Regions from separate parts of the Homo sapiens genome. Here regions 1 and 2 are each linked to region 3. The links are contacts of gene promoters, found by promoter capture Hi-C in human tissues and cell types (Jung and others, 2019). All regions are on one chromosome and are shown on one strand. Each heading gives the region's core, a stretch centred on a gene start or on the middle of the fragment in contact. The rest is flanking DNA. Distances are from core to core; before and after follow the strand shown. Region 1 has its middle 33 kb from the start of MCTP1. Region 2 overlaps MCTP1 (multiple C2 and transmembrane domain containing 1). Region 3 holds the start of MCTP1 (multiple C2 and transmembrane domain containing 1).

Evidence for each region. The method cuts DNA at HindIII sites, captures the fragments that hold promoters and counts their contacts. A contact is called where the count stands out against the background at its distance.
Region 1: a contact is called between a fragment that was not itself captured here and the fragment with the promoter of MCTP1 in region 3, in 1 of the 25 tissues and cell types used here (psoas muscle).
Region 2: a fragment that was not itself captured here is called in contact with the fragment with the promoter of MCTP1 in region 3 in 2 of the 25 tissues and cell types used here (adrenal gland and stomach).

Annotation. Positions count from the first base shown.
Region 1 is chr5:95,316,062-95,319,840 of GRCh38, forward strand. No RefSeq gene overlaps it. Among named protein-coding and RNA genes, the nearest start is that of MCTP1, 33 kb to the left of the region's middle. The HindIII fragment of the contact is 5,677 bases long and covers 1-3,779 here.
Region 2 is chr5:95,235,563-95,239,277 of GRCh38, forward strand. All of the region lies in intron 1 of MCTP1 (multiple C2 and transmembrane domain containing 1), which reads right to left. LOC105379085 (a long non-coding RNA gene) reads left to right here. Exons shown (of 8, transcript XR_948575.3): 6 at 1,206-1,413. Among named protein-coding and RNA genes, the nearest start is that of MCTP1, 48 kb to the right of the region's middle. The HindIII fragment of the contact is 4,605 bases long and covers 103-3,715 here.
Region 3 is chr5:95,283,581-95,287,511 of GRCh38, forward strand. MCTP1 (multiple C2 and transmembrane domain containing 1) reads right to left here and starts at 1,514. Exons shown (of 23, transcript NM_024717.7): 1 at 276-1,514. The coding sequence starts at 995. RefSeq lists silencers at 603-722, 803-862. The HindIII fragment of the contact is 12,418 bases long and covers 1-3,931 here.

The DNA.
Region 1 (3,779 bases), core at 716-3,215, 33 kb after region 3:
AGGAGCTGGGCTTTGTAGTCAGGCACATCTGGGCCCCAAATCTTTGCTGTCACTCAATAATATCAAAAAGCCCCAAGACTCTCACTGTATTAGTCCGTTCTCATGCTGCTATAAGACATGCCTGAGACTGGTTTTTCTTTTATTTTTATTTTTATTATTTTATTTATTTATTTATTGAGACAGAGTCTTGCTCTGTCACCCAAGCTGGAGTGCAGTGGTGCGAGCTCAGCTCACTGCAACCTCTGCCTCCCGGGTTCAAGCAATTCTCATGCCCCAGCCTTCCAGGTAGCTGGGTCTACAGATGCGCACCACCACACCCAGCTAATTTTTTGTATTTTTAGTAGAGACAGGGTTTCATCATGTTGCCCAGGCTGGTCTCGAACTCCTGAGCTCAGGCAACCTGCCTGCTTTGGCCTCCCAAAGTGCTAGGATTTTAGGTGTGAGCCACCACGCCTGGCCAGAGACTAGGTAATTTTTAAAGGAAAGAGGTTTAATTAACTCATGATTCCACAGGACTGGGGAGGCCTCAGGAAACTTACAATCGTGGCTAAAGGGGAAGCAAACATGCCCTTCTTCACATGGCAGCAGCAAGGAGAAGTACGGGGCAAAAGTGGGAAAAGCCCCTTATAAAACCATCAGATCTCCTGAGAACTCACTCACCAGAACAGGATGGGGGGACTCACCACCATGATTCAATTATCTCTATCTGGCACCTCCCATGACACATGGGGATTATGGGAACTACAATTCAATATCAGATTTGGGTGAGAACACAGCCAAACCATATCACTCACTTTCTGGGTTTATCCTTTCTTTCATAATCTAAATGAAATGACTCACGTGCTGAGAGAAGTCCAGCTCCTCCTCAATATTTCTGAGGATTCTAGGAGAAGGGACATACATTTTTCCATTTCTCCTTCCTCTAAATTCTTGCTCCCAGACTGACGCTCAATCACTACTCATATCTTCTCTGAAGTAACTGCTGTTCTTTCTCTTCTTCCCTTTACCCCAAACATGGGCCACAACCAAAGTGCTAACAACACAAGACTCTCAAATGTAACAAGGTTTGACTAAGTTTTGACTACAACTAAGAGTAATCCCACACAGTGCAGAAACCAGCTTTGAATTGAACACAGCTTCCACTGTCCCTAGAAATACACAGATAATTTGCAATCAAAGGAGGGTCTTTTTCTTCCTCAGGCTCTGACTTGCCACCAGGTGGCCAGCCTACTCTGCCTGTAAAAGACTCTCCATTCTATTCCTTCCTCAGTCTTCCAGAAATCCTGTCCTCTACTCAAGTCGCCAGCGGACAACCTAAATGTTTCTTTTACTTTATTATGCACAGCAATTTAGTTTCTCAGACTCCATCCTTCACTGGTAGTTGGTTCCTTTACACAACCAAAAATAGGATTTCCTCTCATGAAATTGATTTATATTGCTGTCTTGGAATGTTAATGCAGTGACTGTGGTCATCCTTTTGAGTAATATTTAATCTTTCCGATGACAATAGCCATGTGTATACAAGCCAATGGATTTATCTGAGCCTTGGTTTCCTCACCTACCTCACATGGTTGTTTTAAAGAGTAAATGTAAAAGCCCGCATGATGCTTGCTACATGGTAGCTGCTGATATTAACCACAAGAAATTTCTACTGGAAAGGGAATTAACACGAGCACCACTGAGTAGTATTAGCCAACAGCCACAGCCAGTTGCTGACATGCCAGACTGAAGCGGAGGGCACCACATTCTGGCACAGTCACTGCATTTCCTGATCTCCCTAGATGCCACATTTTCTGGCAAATACATAGTTAGAAATATTAGGCAAATCCTCACATTCCAGAGCTGAAAATATCCTCCCCCCACCCCAACAGTAAGGGATGGTGTTCCATCTCGCTTATGTTGTTTGCTTCTTTCTCTCAGGGAGGAGAACAGACCTGGACAGGAGCCCAGCTATGTGCCACACGCTTCTGTAATCCATTGCCTGCCATCATATATTTGCTCTGAGAATAAACTGCAGTCACAGTTTTACAAGGATTTTTACTTCCCAGTGAAACAAAGGTTGGTTACAGATCATCTGAAAATTATTTCAGCTGACAAATGAGTTAATGGTAATGAAAAATCTCCTAAGAGCCAACTTTAAAGCAAAAACTAGGAGGTCAACTTGAATCAAGTCCCATCAGCCTACTCCTTGTTCCCAAGTATCCTCTCATCAAAGCCACCCAAGGCTCTCTAGACAAAGGTTTCTTTTTCCTCCCGTCCCCTCCCTATTCTCTTCCCTCACCTCTCCTCTCATCTTTTTCTCTCTTCTTCTCTCTTTCTCCTTCTCCCTTGTTCTTTCTCTCTCTTTTCTCTCCTGTGTCCTTTTTGGATGTTCCAAGATCACTCCTAGTCTTACAGACCTTCCCCTGACCATGACCCAAGCACTCATCTAAAATTGGGGTGGTCTACATGTTTTGAGGTACATGTACTCTGCACCAACCAAGTGCCAGACCCTCTGCTATGTACTTTACATGCATAATCTGAATTATTCTGCCAACAAAACAATGAGATGGATATTATACCCATTTTAAAGACAGAAAACTGATGCTCAGAGAAAGGAAGGCACTTGAGTGTGGCTACAATCAGTAAATGAATAGACAGGATTCAATTTCAGGTCTGTCCTATATCAAGTCTGTTTGTTTTTCAGCACAAAATACTTTCTTTCTGTGTGAGGCTCTCAGCTCAAGGAAGATTTCCACTGAGACTCAAAGAATTCTGGAGTTGGAAGGAGCCCTAGAGGTCCTCCTGCTTAACCATGTCTTCAGTGTGGAACTTCTCACAGTCTGAAATATTTCAAATTGCATACATTTCTACCAAACTGAAGACAGTGTGGCATTCCTGTTGAAGCAGTAACGGTTCACTATGTTAACTAATTTGATAATGGCGCAACAGCTATCTGGTAATACATGGGCAATTAATATCTATGTTCCTTGAGAAGCTTCATGACACTGATTGTGGAGCCCAATCCTACCGTGAACAGTGGCAATTCAGATATTCATCCTTTGCCACCAATCTATTAATCTATTAATCAGTGGTAAAGAATGAAAAACTCTTTGTAATCTGTGCAAACCCAAAGAGAATTGCATCCTTGGCATATTTTCACCTTTTAGGATCTGGTTACCAATTAGAAAAATTACTTGGCATATCAACTCCTATACAGCAGTTAGTCTCTATAAAAATGGATTTTCTTTCCAGACAATTTAAAAGGACAAATGTAACTGAAAGAGAAAAATATGCATTCCTCCCACCATTAGGAATAGTGTTCTGCATAAAATTTGCAATAATTTCAGCTTTAGCCATTTATTAGGAAATATGATATTATTCCTGGAGCCAATACAAACAATCATTTGGAACAGAGATGCCAGGAAAAACATTGTACAGTTTATGGTTTGGCCCTCTTTCATTTGTCTTCTGGTGGTTATTGCTTTTTCAACACCAGTTCTGACAACAGGACCTTTCAAATGCATTCATTTAAAATAATTATCTGAAGCCCTGCTGCTAGGCAAGGTAGAACACACACTGTATAACAGAAATAGCAATGAGTTTTGAAGCTGGAAGGTTCAGATTAAAATCTTTCCTCTGTTTCTTTCTAGGTGGATAATGAAACATTTAACCTCTGTCTCTCTTGGTCCCCATTCATAAAATGGAAATTATAAAATAATCCATCATGAGGTTGTGCTGAAGATTAAAAAGTGATGGTGACTGTGAAAGTAAATGGTAAGGGGCAATGCTGAAAATAG
Region 2 (3,715 bases), core at 1,155-3,654, 47 kb before region 3:
AAAAATGCACATCATGAATGTATACGCCTGAACTTAAAATAAAAGTTAGAAATTTTTTTTAAAAAGTGTATTGTGCAATAATAATGAAAATGTAACTGTATCACATTGTGATAATTATTCCATCTGCTCATTTAATAAATACCTATTGCTTATTCACCAAAAAAGGAAGAAGTAAAACTGTCTTTATTCACAGATGACATAATCATCTTTGTGGAAAATCTGATGATTCTACAAAAATGCTACTAGGTCAGTGCAGCTCATGCCTTGATGTCAACCTTGTAAGAGCTGGAGTAGAGAACCTAGTTGAGCCTCCCTGAGCTACTTCTGACTACAGTACTGTGAAATAATACATATCTATTGTTTATGTCACTAAGTTTAATAATTAATTATGGAGATACAGAAAACTAATAAACCTACTGAAGCAACATTTATGGAAAGTGGTGCCCAAGGATCTGTATGTTTAACAAGCTCCCAATTAATTCTAAACACAGTAAAGTTTAAGACTAACTCAACTGGAAGAACACGGTCACAAAAATGGAACAGATTGGGACTTCTGAACTTATAGATCTTTCAAAGCAGAGGAGGCCATGCCCATTTTTACAATTTTAATACAATTCTTAACTAATTCCTTGCTGATGATATTCTCTTAACAACATGATGAAGAAAATGCTTTAAGGTAATTTACTGCATCTTCCAAGCTCCAAGCAAGGATGAATTATGTCCTAGTCAAAATCTATTCATTCTGTTTTTAGAAGATAGGGAATATATATGCACAAGTTCAATAATGTGATCCATTGTACAATACCACTTTCTTGTCTGCACTTTCTTCCTAAACGCCATTCTAAATTCTCTTTAGTGTAATTTAACCCAGTTTTCTTTTCAGATCCTGGAAAAAATAGTTAATAGCTGGCCATCTTCCTTTATGTCTTCTCCCTTACTTCCCGTGAGGACTGTCTAGTAGCCATATGCTTATCCCCAGGAGGTCAATTGTGATTGGTCCAGATAGAGGTTATATATAGTCTTTGCTGATTACGGTATAAAAAGTCAATATGCAATTTAGTTCTGACCAAAAATACCTAAGATGAAGCCTGTTGGGTGATAATGGGAACATCCCACAAATAGTAGATATGGGCTGAGTTGTCTACTATTTGTCTCCCTCCGAAAAATCACAAAAACATTTATAAAAATGCACATAACACATCCAGGAACCCAGGATAATCAGAACTGCTGGAGTCATCCTGTGACCATAGAGGGAGATTTCACTGAATCCTGATGATGGCAGAAGAGAATTATGAAGAGTGCCTCCGTCCTTGAAGACTCTGTTGAGCAGCCAAACTGACCCTGGAACTGCCTATTTCAAAATTCCTCATGAAGTAAGCTTTAAAATGGCCTTCTTATTTAAGCCATTTTTAGGTGGGTATTCTGATATTTCCCTATAATTCTTGTAGTCTAAGCCATTTTCATATCAGTTCACATTCCCAGAAAGTTCCCAGGAATGCTTGGCTATGTGGCAGTAACCTCCAGTCCCTCTTTTCAGCCTATTCTTAAGCCAGAAATCCCCCACATCCTCTCTGGATTGGCAAGGTGAGACTCTGCCAGGCCATTTGCAGGGTTTCCAAACATAGCCATGGCATAGACAGTCTGGAGGATGTAGTGTGTGCTACTACTCAGCCCCTTAACCTTTTCCCAGAACCAGCAGGCACCATGTCTGAGCCTAGACTGAAGCTCCCCAGAAACATCCAGGAGAGTGGCTGTGAAATATTAGGTTGGTGCAAAAGTAACCATTAAAAGTAACGGTTTTTGCCATTAAAAATAACGGAGTAAGTAATAGACCACTAGGGACATGCGGTGGGTTGGAACTCTGGTAAGACGGACCTCAAACCAGTACATTAAGAACTGCTTCAGTTCCTCTAGGCACGACTGAGATAGGAAGCCCCATCCTAAAGCTCCTGGGTGGCTACTTGCTGCCTCCCTCAGGAACCTTTGCTAGAAGTTATGGCTGCTCTTTCACAGCAAGAAAACCAGAGTTGAAAGGGAGAGAAAGAGTCCATGTTATTTCCCTGGCAAATTGCAGTGGAACACAAGAGAGGAAAATAAATGCTCACTAACTCCTTTGATTCATTAATAAAACATGATGAGAAAATGTATAATTATAATTCTTGATATTTCTCTTCGAAAATTCATTTTCGTGATCCCAGCCTCTTTTTTTGCTTTATTCTGTGAAACATCTAGTGGGACTTGTAGAGATTGGAATGGGCAATTGGCAAGCTGCAAGTAGCCTAAGAAATAGCATTTACCTTGGGTAATTCACCATGATCCAGAGCCTTGTTTTTGACTCTGCTAAGACAGAGCCTGATTCCTTCAGCATGCCACACGAGATGCTGGGCCAATCTGCAAACCATAACTGACATATGGATCTGAATATTCACATTGATATGACCAGTACATTCTCTGCAGTAGCAAATCTATGAAAGGCCAACTCATAAACCAAATGTAGCAGAAGCAGCATGAAATCGGAACAAGGGAAATTTGTTAGTGATTCAAAATTTTAGAAGAAACAAACATCCATCGCCATGTGAGAAAGTCACAAGAATTGACGTTCCCATGCCGGTCTCCTTGGGCAGTTCTTAGGCCAGCCTCTCCACAGTTTCTTTCTCTGACTCTCCGCTACCTGCAAGGAGGTTTCAGTCTGAGCAGCCATCTGTCTTTGGATTGGTATATTATTATTAATCATTAAATACGTGAATCTTTCAGTTAGTTTATAGTTAACTCTTAATCATATACCAAATGTAATAGAATTGCGTTTTTGCTACATTCTGGGAGAGGCATTCTGATATTTCTATCTCTCTGCTTTATGTTGATTTTATACTTTTGCATGGGGGCTAACACTGTTTCCAACTTTTTTCATAACACCTCATTGTTACTCCTAAACATCACAAAAAATTACGCAGATGCCAAATCAATGTGTCACTCATATCAGAGTTCACTTGCTCAGTCCAGGATCCAGGACCAGCCTCAGAGAGGTTGGACCACAGGCACACATAGCTCATTCAGGAAAAGCAGAACTGCCGTCACAACCTTTATAACCGAACATGCAGCAGGAATCCTGGAACAATGCATGATCACTAGTCGCCTGATACCAAGCCTCATATTCTTCCAATTAGTCCTTAAAATTATTCTCATTCTCATACCAACTACATTAATCATACAATTCCTGGATGACTACAGACCCCTAAGCCCTCACTATTCCACCACCTTCCACACTGCCACCAGCATACATACACAAGCACACCGCGTATATGCAGCACATCTAACTCAGCACAAGCCTTGCTCGGTATAATCTCAATTCCCTTGTATTCTCTGGGGAGAGATGAATGGCATCCTTTTTGATTTCAGTATACATGTAGCTATGACAAATTTCCATCTTTCAGGGAATTTACAAAAGCTTTTTGGCTATCATGCATCTAACTGTACCACCCAAAACAGATTTTCTCAAAAAGGGGAGAAAAAACTTGGTCTCACATCTCACTGTTACACAAACGTAACATTTGGTCTCGTAGAAGAAACATTAAAAAGGCCATTGAGCCCTCCAGTGGCAAAATTCTGAAAATGTTATGATGCACATCTAAGCACCCTGGAGAAATCTCCTGAAGACGCGCAGAAACAGAATAGGCAGTCTTAAATCAGTTTAGGCTTTGGGGGTTTTCAAGTTCCT
Region 3 (3,931 bases), core at 264-2,763:
CCCACTTTAGGTCTAACTTTTCATTGACTACTCAGAAAGCTTCTGGTGACAGGTATCATTTCTACCAAAAGTAAAGTCCGGGTGCAAGTCAGAACTCTTTCATCTTTGCTAAACCAGAGCGAGATGTTTTCTTTCGACTGTTTCATCTACTTAGAATTAATAGCATTTCTCCTCCCGCCTCCCGGCCCCCGCCCCCCGCTCCCCGGGTGGTGAACGCCTGAAGAGGGAGGCGTGGTCCCGCGCACCTTGTCTCCGGCCGCGCCACCGGCACTCACCTGGCTGCTGCCGTGCTCCTCGCCCGTCTCCGGGGCCCGAGACTCCGCGGGACTCCGCGCCGGCTCTGCGGGAGGAGGCGGCGGCTCCAGCAGCTGCTCCAGGCAGGCGGTGCCCGGCAGAGAGGAGCTCTTCTGGTGGCACAAGTGCGCCCCGGGGCCCTGACGCCGTGCACCCTCATCTCGGGCGCGGTCCCCCCTCGGGGGAGGCTGGGGCGAGGAGGACAGGGAGGATGAGGCGGAGGAAGAGGAAGGAGCTGAGTCGGGGGAGCGTCCGCCAGGAGGCGTCCCTCCCGCTGCTCCCGAGGCCGCCGCGGGCCCCTTTACGGCGGGGAGCAAATGCTCGCGGATCCGGCGGCGTAGCGTGGACCCCTGCTCGGCTCTGCCGGCGCCGCCGGGCTCCAGGGGCTCCGGCGACGAGCAGCACAGGTTGGGCTGCGAGGAGGAGAAGACTCGGTCCAGCACTTGCTTCCGCTTCTTGAAGCCGCTCCACCTGCTGCCTGCACCACTCCCCCTGGCCGGTGCATTCCCTGTGCCCACCGGGGGTGGCGGGGAGGGCGACGGGGTGTCCGCAGTGCGGCGCTCTGGACCCCCAGCGCGCCCGCCCCCGCCGCCCTTGCTCCTGCCCACCCCCAGCTGCAGGTTCTTCCAGAGCCGGGCCTGGAAGGAGGAGGACGCCGCCGGCGGCTCTGGCTCGCCCGCCGCGGCAGCCCGGGGCTCCATCCTCCACCCCCTGCTCCTCCTCTCCCCTCCTCCTCCTCCTCCTCCTCCTGCTTCTCCTCCCTCTTCGGCTGCACCTCCTCCCGGGTCCCCGCGGCGCTGGCGGTGGCGGCGGCGGCGGCGGCGGGCGCAGCAGCAGAAACCGGGAGTGCCCAGCGACTTCAGGCCAGCTCGGGGGAAAGAAGCGGCCGCCGCCGCCGAGGCTCTCTGGCCTCGGGACTCCGGCGCTGCCTCTTCCTCCCGCACCTGCTGGGGTGGGCTGGAGCCGTAACCGAATCCCGGCCGCGGCGCCTGCAAAGTTTTTCCCTCGAAGCTCCGCGGCTCCAGTCCACTGGCGTCCCCCAGGCCGCGCCCTGGCTCCCTCTTCTCTCTGACCGAGCTCGGGAAGCTGCACGCACCGGGGCGTGCGCGTCCAGCTGCGCCAGGGACCGCACCCGGCGCCCTCTGGGCAGCACCTGTCAGCGGCGGGGGCGGCTGCCTCCAAATTGGGCGCGCACGCGGCTCACACAACAAGGCGCGTCTGGCTGGAGACTCCGGGGACCAGCAGTCCCCCTGGGGCGCCCCGGGACCATCCTCCAGCTCCTAGGTGGGAGGGCCGGTAGGAGCCGGGTGGAGCTAGGTAGGGCCCGAAGCCAGCTTGCTCCCTAGGATCCGGCCACAGTTGCCCAGGCAGCTCGCTGTGCGCTGGCCGCTGGCCGCGCTGGCGATCGTCTGGGTCGGATGAAGCGAGCTGGAGTGGAAACTATGTGCCCTCGATGGGTCTCGTGGGGGCGCCGATCGTCCACACTGAGCGATGAACCCGACGGAGTTCTAAAGCTGAAGACGTCTGCCCCCGCCCCGTTGCGCTCCCTGGGTCCAAGACGAGAGTTTAATTTCTTCTGTCTTGACTTCATCCCCATCCACCCCTCCCTTTTCTTTATTTGCCTCTGCACTGGTCTCTTATGATCAGGTTCTAGCATTTCCGGAGTCTGACGATAAAGCCAGCCCTTAAGTTGCAGGGAGTTTACGGTGGACGAAGATGGGTGATGCGCACTGCCTTTGATCCGATTCGGCACGCACAGAATCTTGTTCTTTTCATTCAAGCGCATTTTTTCTTTGGTTACTTCATTTGCTTGTTGCAAGGCAAACGGAAAAGGCTTTTTAGCTCATTCAGACTTTGCTTCTCCCAAAGCTGCTCAGCCAGGGTCTTCTGATTCTGCTAGGAGAGACTTCTGAAAGGCCAGCAACACAATGCCTCTTTCGTCCTCCTAAATGGGGAAAACGGGAGAGTTCCCTAAGCTGCGGTAGCACACTGATCAGTCTTGTCTAGCTAGCAGTATGCTTTGGAGGTGTTACCAACCTAAGTTTTTTGTTTTGTTTTGTTTTTGTTACCTTTATAACAAATATTTATTAAGCACCTACTATATACCAGGCACTGTGATAGGCTCTGGGGATGCAGCTGTGAACAGGGCATCAGGGTCCCACCCACATGGAGCTTATTGTGAGGGTGAGGGTTGGGAGGTGATGCGAGACAATAAACAGAATTTCTAATATGCAAAAGTCCCATGGAAACAGTTAAGCAGGGTACCACATAACAGAGTGGCTACAGAGGAAGAGCTTCCAGACAAAATGCAGGACACCCAATTAAACTGACTTTCAGAGAAACAATGAATAATATTAGTATATGTATGTCCCAAATATTGCATGGGACATACTTATACTAAAATACTATTATTTATCTGAAATTTAAATTTAACTGGGTGTCATGTTTTTGTTTGCTAAATCTGGCAGCCCCATATGGAGAGGTTTTTGGTTTTTTACATTATGTGTACAGGGAGAGTCTCTCTGAGAAGATAAAATTTTGAGTTAAGACTTAATGAGGACAGAGAACCAGCTATTGACGGATCTGACTGTAGAATTTCAGGTAGAAGGAACAGCAGATACAGAGGTCCTGAGGCAGGAAGCAGCTTGACTGGGCATATTCAAGGACAGAACGATACCACTCCAAATAGAGTAGAGCAAGGTGGGTGGGGTTGGTAAGAGATGTAGTGAAACAAAAGGTCAGCTAAGGGAGTGGGTCCTATAGCCAGAGTGAGAGTCCATGTTTCCTCTAAATGAAATTGGGAGACATTAGAGGTCTTTTTTAATCGTGAGGGTAATGTGATGTGATTTACTAATACTAATGCCAGGTATTAATAAATAGCCTCACAGGGCTATTTTGAAGATTAAGTGGAAAAAGGACTTAGCTCAGTGCCTGTATATAGTTGATATTATTGTTATTTGGTAGACCCAGTATTTCCCAAGTATATGAATACTATGCTTTGGAAAAAGAGCAACGTGAATGGAGAAACACTGGGCTGCATTTAAATAATATTATTGAAATGACAAGATTATAGAGATGGATAGTGGTTGCCAGGGGTTAGCGGTGGGGCAAATGTAAAGGATCAGAATAAAGAAGTTTATTTGTTATGATGAGACAAATTTAGATTGTGGTGGTGGTTACATGAATGTGTGTTATACACAGGATAGGACTGCATAGAACTACATACATATATGAATGCACATAAAAACGTGACATCTGAATAAGATAAGTTGTACCAATGGCAATTTCCTGGGTCTTAATATTGAACTATAGTTATGTATGATAATATCATTGGGGGAAATTGGGTGAAGGTCACACAGGAGCTCTATGTAGTATGTTTGCAACTTCCTGTGAGTCCATAATTATTTTAAAATTTAAAGTATAAATAAAAGCAAACAATAATAAAGCATGTTTTTTTGAAAAAATTGTGTGCTGCTGAAAGTTTTCCTTTGGAACCTTAATAATTAGAGAATGAAACAGTCTTAGAGCTACGATGGCCTACCCTTTCTTTGTAGCTCTGTTCTGGCCAACCCCACCTAATTCCTGAGGAAGCCTCTGAGAAGCAAATGAGGGAAAAGTCAGGACTGGTGAGGCAGAG